Linked DNA regions of Homo sapiens: region 1 is linked to region 2. The links are contacts of gene promoters, found by promoter capture Hi-C in blood cells and fetal thymus (Javierre and others, 2016). All regions are on one chromosome and are shown on one strand. The core of a region is centred on a gene start or on the middle of the fragment in contact, and the rest is flanking DNA. Distances in the headings are between cores, read along the strand shown. Region 1 overlaps HIF1AN (hypoxia inducible factor 1 subunit alpha inhibitor). Region 2 holds the start of MRPL43 (mitochondrial ribosomal protein L43).

Region 1 (6,171 bases), core at 731-3,230, 430 kb before region 2:
AGGAGGCCAGCATTCTGTCAGGAGAACCTTAGGAATTGTGACCAGAAGTCAAAGTTGTTACAGCAATCCTGCATTCAACCAGGTTTCATCTGAAAAACTTAAGAGTTGCTAGGCACAGTCGTGCACACTTGTAATCCCAACACTTTGGGAGGCTTGAGTCAGGAGGAAGCTTGAGGCCAGGAGTTTGAGATCAGCCTAGGCAGCATAGTGACACCCCATCTCTTGAAAAAACAAACACTCTTAAGAGCAGTGGTTCACCTAGAAATAAAAAGCAGAAATCATCAAGATGAGAAGACATTTTGTGTTTTGACAGCCAAGGAAATTTGCCACTGAGACAAGGTATCTGACAGCCTAGATGGGATTCTAGACTTCTGTGAGAAAGTGCAGTTAGGCCCTGAATAGCGTCAAACTCAGGGATGTGAGCTGACTGACTGCCTTTTTATGTAATGGAGGCCATGTGATAGGGCTTTATGAGGCCACAAATAGCACTTTCTGGGTCCTTTCACAGTCTAGTCAGTGGCCCAACCAACATATCTGGTTGTTCTGCAATCTCAGTCATCTGAGAAGATAACCTCCAAAATACATGCAGTGGCATCAGGTGTTTCCTTGGTAGGTGTGCATCTTTTAATGATGGAGGACTTAGGATGAAGAACAGGTGTGTTTAAAAACATCAAACCCCCACATCATTACTATTTGCTGTAAGGATCTATGCAGTTTGTATTTTAAGTCCTTGACATATGGAAGAGCATTTGTGAGAGTAACAGGTTTGCTTTGTAATGCCAACTAAAAAGTGTGTATTTATACTCGAATTTTAAGTTGAAATTTTGCTAAGTTTCTTTTTTTTTTTTTTGAGACGGAGTCTCACTCTGTTGCCCAGGCTGGAGTACAGTGGTACAATCATTGCTAAGTCTTTCTGTAGTTTTAGAACATTTAGAACAACTTAAGATTTCCTGTATTTATAAACTTAATTTATTGGAAATATAAGTACTTGATCAGGTTTTGTCTTGGTCAGATAAATTAAGTACTTAAGGAAATCAAATACATTAATCATATAAATGCCATTTAAGTGTTTAAAGGAGTTTAGTTAAATGTAAGTTGGATCAAACATTAAACTTTTTTGTTTTATAAGCAAAATAATAAGATTTGTTAGCAGAACTTAAAAGCTTAGAAAAGAGAGGATTTTGGATATGTAACTTTGAAGAGGTGAATAGTTTGCTCTTTTCTGAGACAGGGCATTGCTTTTCGACGCAGGCTGGAGTGCAGTGGGGCAAGCATGGCTCACTGCAGCCTCAACCTCCTGGACTCAAGTGATCCTCCTGCCTCAGCCTCCCATGTAGCTGGGATCACAGGCACATGCCACCACACCTGGCTAATTTTTTATTTTTTGTAGAGACAGGGGCCTCACTTCATTGCCCAGGCGGATCTCGAACACCTGGGCTCAAGCAGTCCTGCCTCAGCCTCCCAAAGTTCTGGGATTACAGGCATAAGCCACTGTGCCTGGCCTTGAATATATTTTTTAACCAAAGTAATTTATGAATATAAATTGTTTCTATATAACCCAAAGTCACTCTCATTGACATTAAGAAACTCAGAGAGTGGGTTCTAAATGTAATATTACCACACACCCAAGTCACTTAGCCTCTACAAGTACCACGTAACTAGCAGCCGTTAAAAGATGGCCACCGCTAGTCCAGTCGGCCACAGACATGGTTTTGTTTGGCCAATACAAGTTTTTGAAAGTTTTAAAAAATTGACAACATTAAAGATCAGAAACTTGACCTAAAAAGATTTCTCTCTTTGGAAAATCAGATCTGGCAGTAATGAAATCGCCTTTCCCATGTGACAGCAGTTGGCTGGAGCTGAAGAGCAACTGCCCCCTTGGCTGTGTTCCTTTCAGTTTGTCAATCTCCACTCTTCACTGTTGTACCCTAGATCTCACTCACGTGACCTGTCTGGCCCACATAGATATTTGAGGGTATGGCCCTGAACTTGAGGCACTCTGGAGTTGCTAACAACTGATGCTGGGCAGCCTAGAATAAGGGCTCAGGAAAAGTGTAGGCCCTACCTCTCTCTGTTCACATCATTCCCCCCTCCAGCCAGGCTGTCTTCCCAGCTGACCTGGCTCCAGGACTGATTCCAACCCCTATAGCAACTGTGTAAGAAGTCCCCAGGCTCAGGCTTCTCAGTGTTCACTGCTCTTGTCTGTGACCAGGCACTTTGCCTAGGCTCTGACCTCATGTCTCAGTCCTTTTGAACATTCTGGTCACCTGCCTAGTTTGACCGCAGCCTGACTTTGGTCTGTGAGGGGTCCTGGGCTCTCTGCTTTATGCAGCCACCATATCTGATCTTTGTGATGTGGTTGTGAATCTTCTGCTTCTATCTCCACCATCACTGTCCACTGCTTGGGCAATATGGTTGCTCAGCTGAGAGATTGGCAGCCCAGATTGCTAAAGGCTTAGGAGACATGAAAGGTGAGTTTGGAAGTGTTTGGATTTTCAAAAGAAGGACAGAGGCAGAAGCCAACCACAGTTTAAGGGGGCAGCTAGTAGAGAGCTTTTTAGGCAAGGGAGGCCACTGCACATTTATAGGCAGAGAAGGTGGCAGGACAGAGAATTTAAGAGAATGAGGTCTCAGAGGAGGCATAGGATGATGGGATATGAAATAGCAAAGGCACACCCAAGGTGATCCTGAAGCTCAGAAATATTAAGTCATGCAGGAGGGGGCACCATTGGAAATATAATCCCCTAAAGTTATGAGTAAACAAATGATGGTGGGGTGTGGAGGGTAGAAAGAAGGCCTAAGCTTGATGTGGGGGCCACAGCCTGGGCAAGAGAAATTTCCAGCAAAGCCTCTGACAAATTTCTGACAAAGCCTCTCATGTTATCTAGTTGTGGCAGAAGCATCTGAACCAAATGGCTAGGAAGCTTGGTGAACAGTCAGACCCAGTGAGGGTTGATTAATGGATCCATGTCAGCCTAGACTAGAGGGAAGTCTCCAGCAGTATGCCTTAGGGCTCAGTCTGGGCCTGTGTCCTCTCTGACATTTTTATTGACAACTGACCGAAGCAGCAGGCTCATCAAGTTTGCAGGTGATAGAGCTAGGAGGGGCAGTTAATACTTTGCATGAAAGAGTCAGGATTCAAAACGATTTCAACAGGCTGGAACACTGGGCTGGAACCAACAAGATTAAACTTAACAGGGATAAATGTAGAGTCCTGCACTTAGGTTAAAACAAAATCAATGACATAAGTACCGGTTGTAGGGGTTGGCCCAGCTTGACAGCAGTTCATGAAGAAAAGACCTGGGGGGTTTAGTTGACTGCAAGCTCAATATGAGTCAACTGTGTGATGTGACTGCTAAAATCCTAACACAGCCATGAATTGCATTAACCAAACGGAGCAGCCAGATCAAGGGAGGTGTTACCCCACTGCTTTCTGAGATGGTCAGGCCACCTCTGAGCACTGGGTCCAATTCTGAGGTCTTTTCCCCTGCTAAGGTCAGTGACAAATGAGAATATTTTTGATAGGAAGCCACCATGGCAGTGGGCCTGAATACTGTCCGAGACTTGCCAGTGATTCTATGGTGCTGAAATTTCTGGAATGAAGGACAGGAGTCTAGAATCTGAACCCAGGCAAAGACTTTTATCTGGAGCATATTTCTAGGATTTAGGGGAAAATTTGGGGTCTGCATTTCCTCACTTCCTATGGCTGCCCAGAGGCATTGGCCTGTGACTCTCATCCCTGGCCTTCCTGAGGTCAGGGGATTAGCGATTAGTTAGACGGGGTCTAGGGTAGAGGTCAGCCTGAGGGGGCGGCTATAAAACGAGTCATTGAGGTGGGAGGGAACCTGGAAATTGGGACCTCACGCACCATATTTCCCGCGCTCTCCCCTGGGACGTGCCGTCCCTGCTGCAGTCGCAGCGTGGCGCCCTCGCTCCACGCAGGGATCCTGAGCCAATGGCGGAAGCGGAGTGCGCGGCGAGGTCGCAGTTGCGTTTCTCGCACTCCCCACTGCGGGGAGCCCGTGGGCCCCGCACTGCAGGGAAGCTGCCGGCCCAGGTCTCCTGGGTGGCAAGAAGACGCCTGTGGTGTGGAAGAACCTCGCCCGCAGCCCAGCACGTGTAGAATCCAGATGTGGCTTCTGCTGGAGCCACGTGTTCCGGCCTGAGCGACGTCGCACGTGGCCTCCTGGCCGCAGAGCCCATGGCGCGGGGGGCCACTCTTCTGACGCAAGGGTCTGTGGGGCCGCGCAAGAGCCTGGGGCCCCCGACCTTCCGCCGACTGGCCGTGGGCTGGCCGCAGCCCAGCTCGGCTCTGTCTCGAGTTCCTTCGCTGTTCAAAGCAGAGTGGCGGCCACGTTCGGGGGCACTGGGGCGAGGGGTCGGGCGTCGGACGGGGCCCTGGGTCTGTACCGTTTCGGGCTCGCCGGAGGGGCTGCAGGCAGGGCGGGTTTCGGGTTCCACCGCCAGAATAATTCGGCAGTTCTGGATGGGGCCCAGGAATTTGTATTTGTGACCAGTTTCCCAGGTGAGTCTGAGGTCCGTGGTCCTCTGACCTCGTTTAGGGATGAGATCTAGTCCTCAGAGCCCGGGGCGGGGCTGCCGAGGACACCGGCTTGCTCTTCAGGCAGCTCTGGCCCGGGTGGCGGGAGGAGGCGGCCGGGGCTGGGATCCGGGCGCACCCTGGAAGCTCCAGATGGGCGTTGGAGACCTAGGGCGAGATGAACCGAGGACCGTCCATGTGTGTGGGTGCCGCTCAGGAGCGGGGAGGTGGGGGTGTGGGTGGACGGGCGTGTTGAGGGTGATGGATTGCTGCAGGGAGTGGACTCAGCCTACTGGGAGGAGTGGGAGAGGGGAAAGAACTGGAGGAACGGCGGAGTCCGTTGGCCTTTTCTTGGAGAGCTGGAGATGGAGGTTGGTTCTGTCCTGATGGGGGCAGGAGGACGGGTAATGGAGGCTGCCATGCTCAGTGAAGCCCCATGGGGGCAGCCATGCTTTGTGGTTTGTGGTGAGGCACTGAGCCCCAGGATACTGACTATTCCCTTTTTTGGAGAAAGAGGGGAAGAGGATGCTCCTTAAGAGCTTCTAGGGGAACGTTTCTGCCTCCAGGGGGTTTAGGTGAACTGTGTGTGTGTGTGTGTGTGTGTGTGTGTGTGTGTGTGTGTGTGTGTGTGTAGGTTAGCATATTGGAGATTTTCAAGGGAGTTCGTCTCCAGGACACTTCCCTCACCCCTACATCCACACACAGTATCTTATGATCCTCTTGGTTTCTCTTGGGCCTCAACTCCCCAAAAGGGGGGCACTCTTGTCAGCAGCTCACAAACATGTGGATATCTGCTAACTGAAGACACTCTGAAGACTTTCCCAGAGGAACGTTATAGAAGGAACCCTCAAATTCCAAATCCTTGAATATTGGAGCTGGAAGAGAACTTACAAACCATCTGATGCTGTCTTCCCCAGCTTGGTCTTGGAGAGTAGACACCTTAAGTGAAGGCCGAGCTTCGTAAGCCTCTGAGGATCCCAGTACCTGGTGTGGAGACAGGACTTGTGCATTGCCTAGAGAAGGGAGAGACACAGCAGAGTCAAGCGGTGGGTGGTGAGCTTTGATGGTGAACACCTGGGAGCTCAGAGGTGGGTAGGAGCCTATAAAAGAAGGCCCCTTGAAGGAGGGAAGCTAGAGCTGCATCTTTAAATGGGGAAAATTTATCTTTTGTGTTTTTCCCCCTGATTATGAATTTATGAAAATGAAGAAAAAATATATTGGGGCCGGGTGTGGTGGCTCACACCTGTAATCCCAGCACTTTGGGAAGCCAAGGCAGGCAGATCACTTGTGGCCAGGAGTTTGAGACCAGCCTGGCCAGCATGGTGAAACCCTGTCTCTACTGAAAATACAAAAATTAGCTAGGTGTGGTGATGCATGCCTGTAATCCCAGCTACTTGGGAGGCTGGGGCACGAGAATTGCTTGAACCCAGGAGGTGGAGGTTGCAGTGAGCCAAGATTGCGCCACTGCACTCCAGCCTGGGCAACAGAGCAAGACTCTGTCTCCAAAATATGTATATATGGATGGAACACTGTGACATGTTGGTCTTCAGGGGAGCAAAGCTACAGAGGCCTGAATTTCCTGAGGTTTGGAGGGCAGTGAAGAGATGAAGAGGACAGCTCTGACCATTGTT
Region 2 (6,363 bases), core at 3,624-6,123:
TCTACTAAAAATACAAAAACTAGCTGGGCATGGTGGCATATGCCTGTAATCCCAGCTACTCAGGAGCCAGAGGCAAGATAATCGCGTGAACCAGGGAGGTGGAGGTTGCAGTGAGCTGAGATCACGTCACTGCACTCCAGCCTAGGCGACAGAATGAGACTCCGTCTCAAAAAAACAAAACAAAACAAAAAGGCGAGCAAGAAAGAGAAGGGAGACTCCCAGGTTTCTGACTTAAGCAACTGTGTGGCTGGTGGTGCCATTCACAGTGGTGGCGATTCAAGGAAAGGACTTGGTGTCGTTGGGGAGAAAAGCTTTGGTTTTGAGGTGTCCAAGAGACCTCATGTGGAGATGCCCAGCACATGGTAGATATCCGAGTCTGGCACTCAGGAGAGAAGTCTGAGGTAGAGATTAGGAGTTACTGGCAGATGGCAGAAATTGAAACCACAGGAGAGGATGAGAGCATGGAGAGAGAATGGAAAAGGGCCCAAGGCACTGCCTGCTTCCTGGGAAGGGCCAACGTGAACCTTCTGTGGAAGCATGAGCACAGAGCCTGGGTCAGCTGTCACTGTGATTCTGGGTTCTGTGCTTGGTGCCAGGGACTTGGCAGTGAACAGTCTGGCTTGCCATCTCTAATCCCTTCCTGGGACGGGCTGGTACTGACCTCTCCCCCAAACCCCACAGGGCCACCACCACCACTGAAGACCCGCTCTGTGCTCCGGGGTGATGATGTCCTCCTGCCCTGTGACCAGCCATCCAACCTGGCCCGGGCCTTGTGGCTACTCAATGGGAGCATGGGCCTGAGCGATGGGCAGGGTGGCTACCGTGTGGGCGTGGACGGGCTGCTGGTTACAGATGCACAGCCTGAGCACAGTGGCAACTATGGCTGCTATGCCGAGGAAAATGGCCTCCGCACCCTGCTGGCCTCCTATAGTCTCACAGTCCGGCCAGCCACTCCTGCCCCAGCTCCAAAAGCCCCTGCCACACCTGGGGCACAGCTGGCACCTGATGTGAGACTGCTCTATGTGCTAGCCATTGCCGCGCTTGGTGGCCTCTGCCTCATCCTGGCCTCCTCCCTCCTCTATGTGGCCTGTCTGCGGGAAGGCAGACGAGGGCGCCGACGGAAATACTCACTGGGTCGGGCCAGCCGGGCAGGAGGATCTGCGGTGCAACTGCAGACAGTCTCAGGCCAGTGTCCTGGAGAGGAAGATGAGGGTGATGATGAGGGGGCTGGGGGCCTGGAGGGCAGCTGTCTCCAGATCATCCCTGGGGAGGGAGCCCCAGCCCCACCACCCCCACCGCCCCCACCGCCACCGGCTGAGCTGACCAATGGCTTGGTGGCACTGCCCAGCCGGCTGCGGAGGATGAATGGCAATAGCTATGTGCTTCTGAGGCAGAGCAACAATGGAGTACCAGCAGGGCCCTGCTCCTTCGCCGAGGAACTCAGCCGCATCCTGGAAAAAAGGAAGCACACGCAGCTCGTGGAGCAGCTAGATGAGAGCTCTGTCTGAGCCCAGCCTCCCAGAACAAATGCTCTTCCAAGCCAGCCTATCTGTCCCAGGCTGGGCCACTGCCTCCCTAACACAGCCACCCTCCCTTCATTACCCCCACTCCATACCCTTCTCCCAACTTTTTGATGTCCCTGTAGGGCTGGCCAGTCAGGCCCAGCCAAAGCCCCCTCCTCAGTCTCCACAGACCCACATGTGAGCAGCCCAGGCCCATCGGTGCTCCTCAGAGGTAGGTGCTCCCTCAGGATCAGGTGCCCTGCAGACCCAGAGCCAGTTCCTATCCCCTAACCTAAACACTTATAGGTGAGGACTCCATCCTCCTGTTCCATTCATCTGCCCAAACCCTTTCTCTTTCTCCCAGGCAGGGCTCTGCAGGTCCATATGGGCTCAATGTCACCACCCTCTGCATGGCCCTGTGTGCTGGATGGTCCTGAAACCAGACAAGACCTCTGCCAGCCACCTAAGCCCTGCGTACATTCACATGCACACATGGAAGAATGTTTATCGGCTGGGCTGCAGTGCCCCCACCCTCACCTTCTCCTGGTGCATTCTTGTTTCATCCCTGCTTCTGGACTTGGGGTACCCTCCCAATTGCCACATCCTATCTGGTCCTCTTCCCCAGCCCCATGTGGTGACCTCTTTGTCAAGAGCTTGGGAACGGGCCAGCCTGGGGAGGTAAGACTGCATCACTCCCCTCCTCTCCCTTCCTGTGTGGCCCTTGTGAATCAGCCTCCCCACTCTCCTTGGTCATTCTCAAGAGTATGAGAGACAGAGCTCCAGGCATGTCCCATCCCCATGCACATGTGGTAACACACACCTGTATCACACATGTGCTTACATTTCCACTCACATGCACCTCTGAGCCTCCCTTGCTGTCTTGGACCTGTCTGTTGGGTTTAGTCCGTGGACATTTCAGAGGGAGATCCCCCTCCCATTTAACTGTCCTCACAGGCCCTTGCCTAGGATGGATGACCAACACTGCACTCAATGAGCCAGCCTCTCTTTTGGGGGAATCAAGCATTTGCTTCCTCTAGACTACAGCAGGGAAAGGGAGGAGAAATCTGATGTCTCAACTGGCACATGAAGCCCATTCTTGGAACTATGCAAAGGGCAGAGGCTGGGAGTTTGGACGCTTAGCTCCTACCCCTGTCCTACCTCACCGGGGCACTTTCAGGGGCCAGGGGCCTCTGAAGTCTCTAGGCCTATATGGGACAATCAATTCTGACTGAGCTCCCCCATTCCCCTCGGGTGAGGATGACTGTTATTTTTGTAGCTGAGAACGTGGAATCCCACGGGTTTTTACTGCCCTTCACCCAACCTCTCCCACCTCCACCCCACAATGAATGTATTTATTGTGAGAATGGCTACACTTCTTTAGGAATGCCCCCACTTACAACCAGGTGGGTGGAACAGGCATGTGACAGAGTGGGGAGCCTGGGCTCAGCTCCTCCCCCTGCCGTTGGTTAATAAACACCCTTTTTCCCCACAGCTATGACTAGTCTGCTTCATCTAGATGCGCCCACCCCTGATCACCAGGGGACAGGCTCCTGAGCCTATACAGAAGGTGATATCTGCCTCCAGGATTGGCTCTGCTCCCCAATACAACTATTTGCAGAGGAAATTGGGATCCTCCGCTTCCATCCTGACTCCTTGGCAGGCACACAGGCCTCTTTAGTAAGGTTCACACTATTCATTGATCATGGTGTTAGGGCATGACAAGAAAATGACAACAGTTCAAGAATTCTTACAGGGGTTTCTAGATTTTCATTTCCTGCCTCTCATTTCCCCACCATCCCCCCTTTTTAAACTAAGATTAGAAAATACTCATTAATATCAGCCTTCCTGCCCTTCCCCAAGGTTCTCAGCACCCCCCACCAGCTGGCTCAAGGGACATGGATTTTATTTCTGCACAAAGAGGGACGTGGGGGGAAGGAGATGTATAGCTAAGACCAGAGAAAGCTTGTCAGCCAGGACTTGGTCTGAGAATCACTCCCCTCTCCCTTTCAGGGGTCAGGCCTAGATTAATCACTTGGCCTTTGATACTAACCACCTGACAGTTGTTATATGTTCTGCGTCTAGTTTTAAAATAATGAAAACTGAGGCTTGTGCTTAACATATGCACACATTTTGAAGACAGACCTGAAATGTGACCTTGGATAAGTTTATTAACCTGTTTTATAAATCTGTATTCACACAGATATAAAGTGCCTAGCCCATCACAGCAGAGCTCTCCGTAGCTCAGTGGTTGTTCCAATAAGACATCAGGGATTCTTCAGAAGCCAGCCTTCAGACCTCTCACTGTGTTTTGAGATCATTATTATCAATTTGGATTTAAAAAACAAGGGCCCTGTAAAACCCTTGAAGTCTTCCTCATCTCAGGTTTTAGGGATGCCACTTGCATAAAAATGAGTGGTTCACAAGGTCACTGCCCCCAGAAGCAGGCACTGGAAAGAAACAGGCAGCTCTTCATTATCCCAAGCAGAACCTCTGTCAACTTGCCCATTGATGGGTTCCATTTGCCTGGGCTTGGAATCCCAAAGGGGAAGAACCACCTTTACCGGAGTAACAGTCCAAAGCCTGGGGCTGCAGTTGGTGGGGCAACTCTTCACTGTGCTTGCACCTGGGCTGGGGCAGGATCCTGAACCTCTCGGGGGCGTAGCCCGCGGAACGTGGTCGGCTTGTTGGTGAAGGGGTGCCACTGGCCCTGGATGCTAGGGTTGTCGGTGTGGAAGGGCTTGCGGATGCGGATCACGTCCAAGCCCGACTGGTCGGCCAGCTTCTGCACCAGCGTCGAGATCTCCTCGACCGACTTGCAGTGGATGCTCTCCTCGCGCACAGCCCCGTTAACTGGCAGAAGAGGGGTGAGAGTGGGTGGAAGCTGGCCGGTGCGACCAAGCGAGAAGGAGGATAGCGGGTCGAGCCCCTGATCCCGCCCTCCAGCCCGAGCCCGGCCCCACTCACGGTATTCGGCCACTACTCTGGGCACGCAGCACGGACGCGAGTTTACATATATTACGACCCCTGGATTCCGTCGGGCGAAGTCGATCACCTCCCGCTCCACGAACTCCCTAAGCGACCCGGGACAGTGAGCAGTATGACCCCTGACTGGGGGCGACCTACCCGGGGAGTCGTTGCCACCTCCACACCCACCCCGACCCGCGCCTGCGCACTTCCCTTGGCTCACCTGGCGCCGCGAGACGAGGCGCCGTCGCGGCTGACGCTGAAGCTCAGACGCTGCAGCTGCTGCACATAGCGACCCAGTCCGTTGTGGAGAACGCTGGCCAAGAAGCGGCTCGGAGTCCCGCGCGCCGTCATAGCTACAGCTTGGAGGCCGCGGAGCCTAAGCAGCGAGGAGAGGGGGGCGGGACTAAACCTCGAGGCTTCCGGTTCCGGGACGACCGCTCCCGGAGTTTTGCTTCCGAGGTCAAGGCGAGTAGCATGTGCGGGAGACTCACGTTGCCGGCGAAGTGGGAGAGAGAAAAGTGGTAACCTGGGGCTGGGGGCCGGCGCGGCGGAGCTCGGAGTAGTAGAGCGGAGTGAAGACACGGGGGAGGATAGAGACTGGCATTCCTTTGGGCCGGGGGATTGGCGGGAGTCGTGCTGGGTGCTCTCGCCGTGTTGAGGTCCCAGTGAGGGGAAGGAGAAGCGGAAGAGGGTCTCTAGTCGGGGCCTAGGGCAAAGGGACTACAAAAAGGATGCAGATGACTATAGAAATGAGGACGACGAGGAGATGCTGTGGAGGAGCAGTAGAGGTGAGAAGATGATGCAAAGAAACTGTGTCAGTGAGGAACTGTATAGAGGGTCATAGAGGTGAGGTGGCGGAGAGAAACTAACTAACGGACCATAGAGGTGGGGGAGCCATTGTAGAAGGACGTGGACGCGAAAGGGTCGTGTAGATGGGCATATGTGTGAAGCAGCAACGTAGAGGGGCTGAAGAGGAGAAATTCATGGAGAGAAAGAATGCACCTAGAGTGAGCTCTGCAGAGTGCTGCGTGGGATATCCCTAGAGTTTGGTCTAGTGAAGGCACGCTAACCAGGCACCTAAGGCATTTCAAGTAGTGACTTCCCACATTTGGCTAGGAATGTGGGTCCTCCTCCGAAGTGGGTACCCCCTCCGTATCTTGTTACCCCTGCGTGGGGAGTGGATGGGTCGGAGGGGCCTGCCCCGAAACTTGGCCCCAGGCCCTCCTCGCAGACGTTACAGGAAGGAGACTCTCCAAGCCTTGGATATGCCAGTGTTGCCTGTAACTGCAACTGAAATCCGCCAGTATTTGCGGGGGCATGGGATCCCCTTCCAGGATGGTCACAGTTGCCTGCGGGCACTGAGCCCCTTTGCAGAGTCTTCACAGCTCAAAGGCCAGACTGGTGTTACCACTTCCTTCAGCCTCTTCATTGACAAGACCACAGGCCACTTTCTCTGCATGACCAGCCTAGCAGAAGGGAGCTGGGAAGACTTCCAGGCCAGCGTGGAGGGGCGAGGGGATGGGGCCAGGGAGGGGTTTCTGCTTAGCAAGGCACCAGAATTTGAGGACAGCGAGGAGGTCCGGAGGATCTGGAACCGAGCAATACCTCTCTGGGAGCTGCCTGATCAGGAGGAGGTTCAGCTGGCTGATACAATGTTTGGCCTTACCAAGGTTACAGATGACACACTCAAGCGTTTCAGTGTGCGATATCTGCGACCTGCTCGCAGTCTTGTCTTCCCTTGGTTCTCCCCTGGGGGCTCAGGATTACGAGGCCTGAAGCTCCTAGAGGCTAAATGCCAGGGGGATGGAGTGAGCTACGAGGAAACCACTATTCCCCGACCCAGCGCCTACCACAATCTGTTTGGATTACCACTGATTAGTCGTCGAGATGCTGA

What was found. Contacts are between HindIII fragments. The CHiCAGO score rates a contact against its expected background, and 5 or more counts as called.
Region 1: a contact is called between a fragment that was not itself captured here and the fragment with the promoter of MRPL43 in region 2, in 4 of 17 cell types (fetal thymus, naive CD4 T cells, activated CD4 T cells and 1 more). The highest score is 7.1, in fetal thymus.

What each region holds. Positions count from the first base shown.
Region 1 is chr10:100,558,213-100,564,383 of GRCh38, forward strand. It overlaps HIF1AN (hypoxia inducible factor 1 subunit alpha inhibitor), which reads left to right. Exons shown (of 8, transcript NM_017902.3): 8 at 1-1,786. Among named protein-coding and RNA genes, the nearest start is that of HIF1AN, 25 kb to the left of the region's middle. RefSeq lists enhancers at 3,697-4,335, 4,094-4,173, 4,284-4,333, 4,336-4,973. The HindIII fragment of the contact is 1,639 bases long and covers 1,162-2,800 here.
Region 2 is chr10:100,982,624-100,988,986 of GRCh38, forward strand. It overlaps MRPL43 (mitochondrial ribosomal protein L43), which reads right to left and starts at 4,874. Exons shown (of 3, transcript NM_032112.3): 1 at 4,690-4,874; 2 at 4,467-4,573; 3 at 3,646-4,352. The coding sequence starts at 4,820. The coding sequence ends at 4,111. TWNK (twinkle mtDNA helicase) reads left to right here and starts at 4,920. Exons shown (of 5, transcript NM_021830.5): 1 at 4,920-6,363. The coding sequence starts at 5,588. It overlaps SEMA4G (semaphorin 4G), which reads left to right. Exons shown (of 15, transcript NM_017893.4): 15 at 682-2,993. The coding sequence ends at 1,508. RefSeq lists an enhancer at 4,633-4,702. The HindIII fragment of the contact is 4,949 bases long and covers 3,463-6,363 here.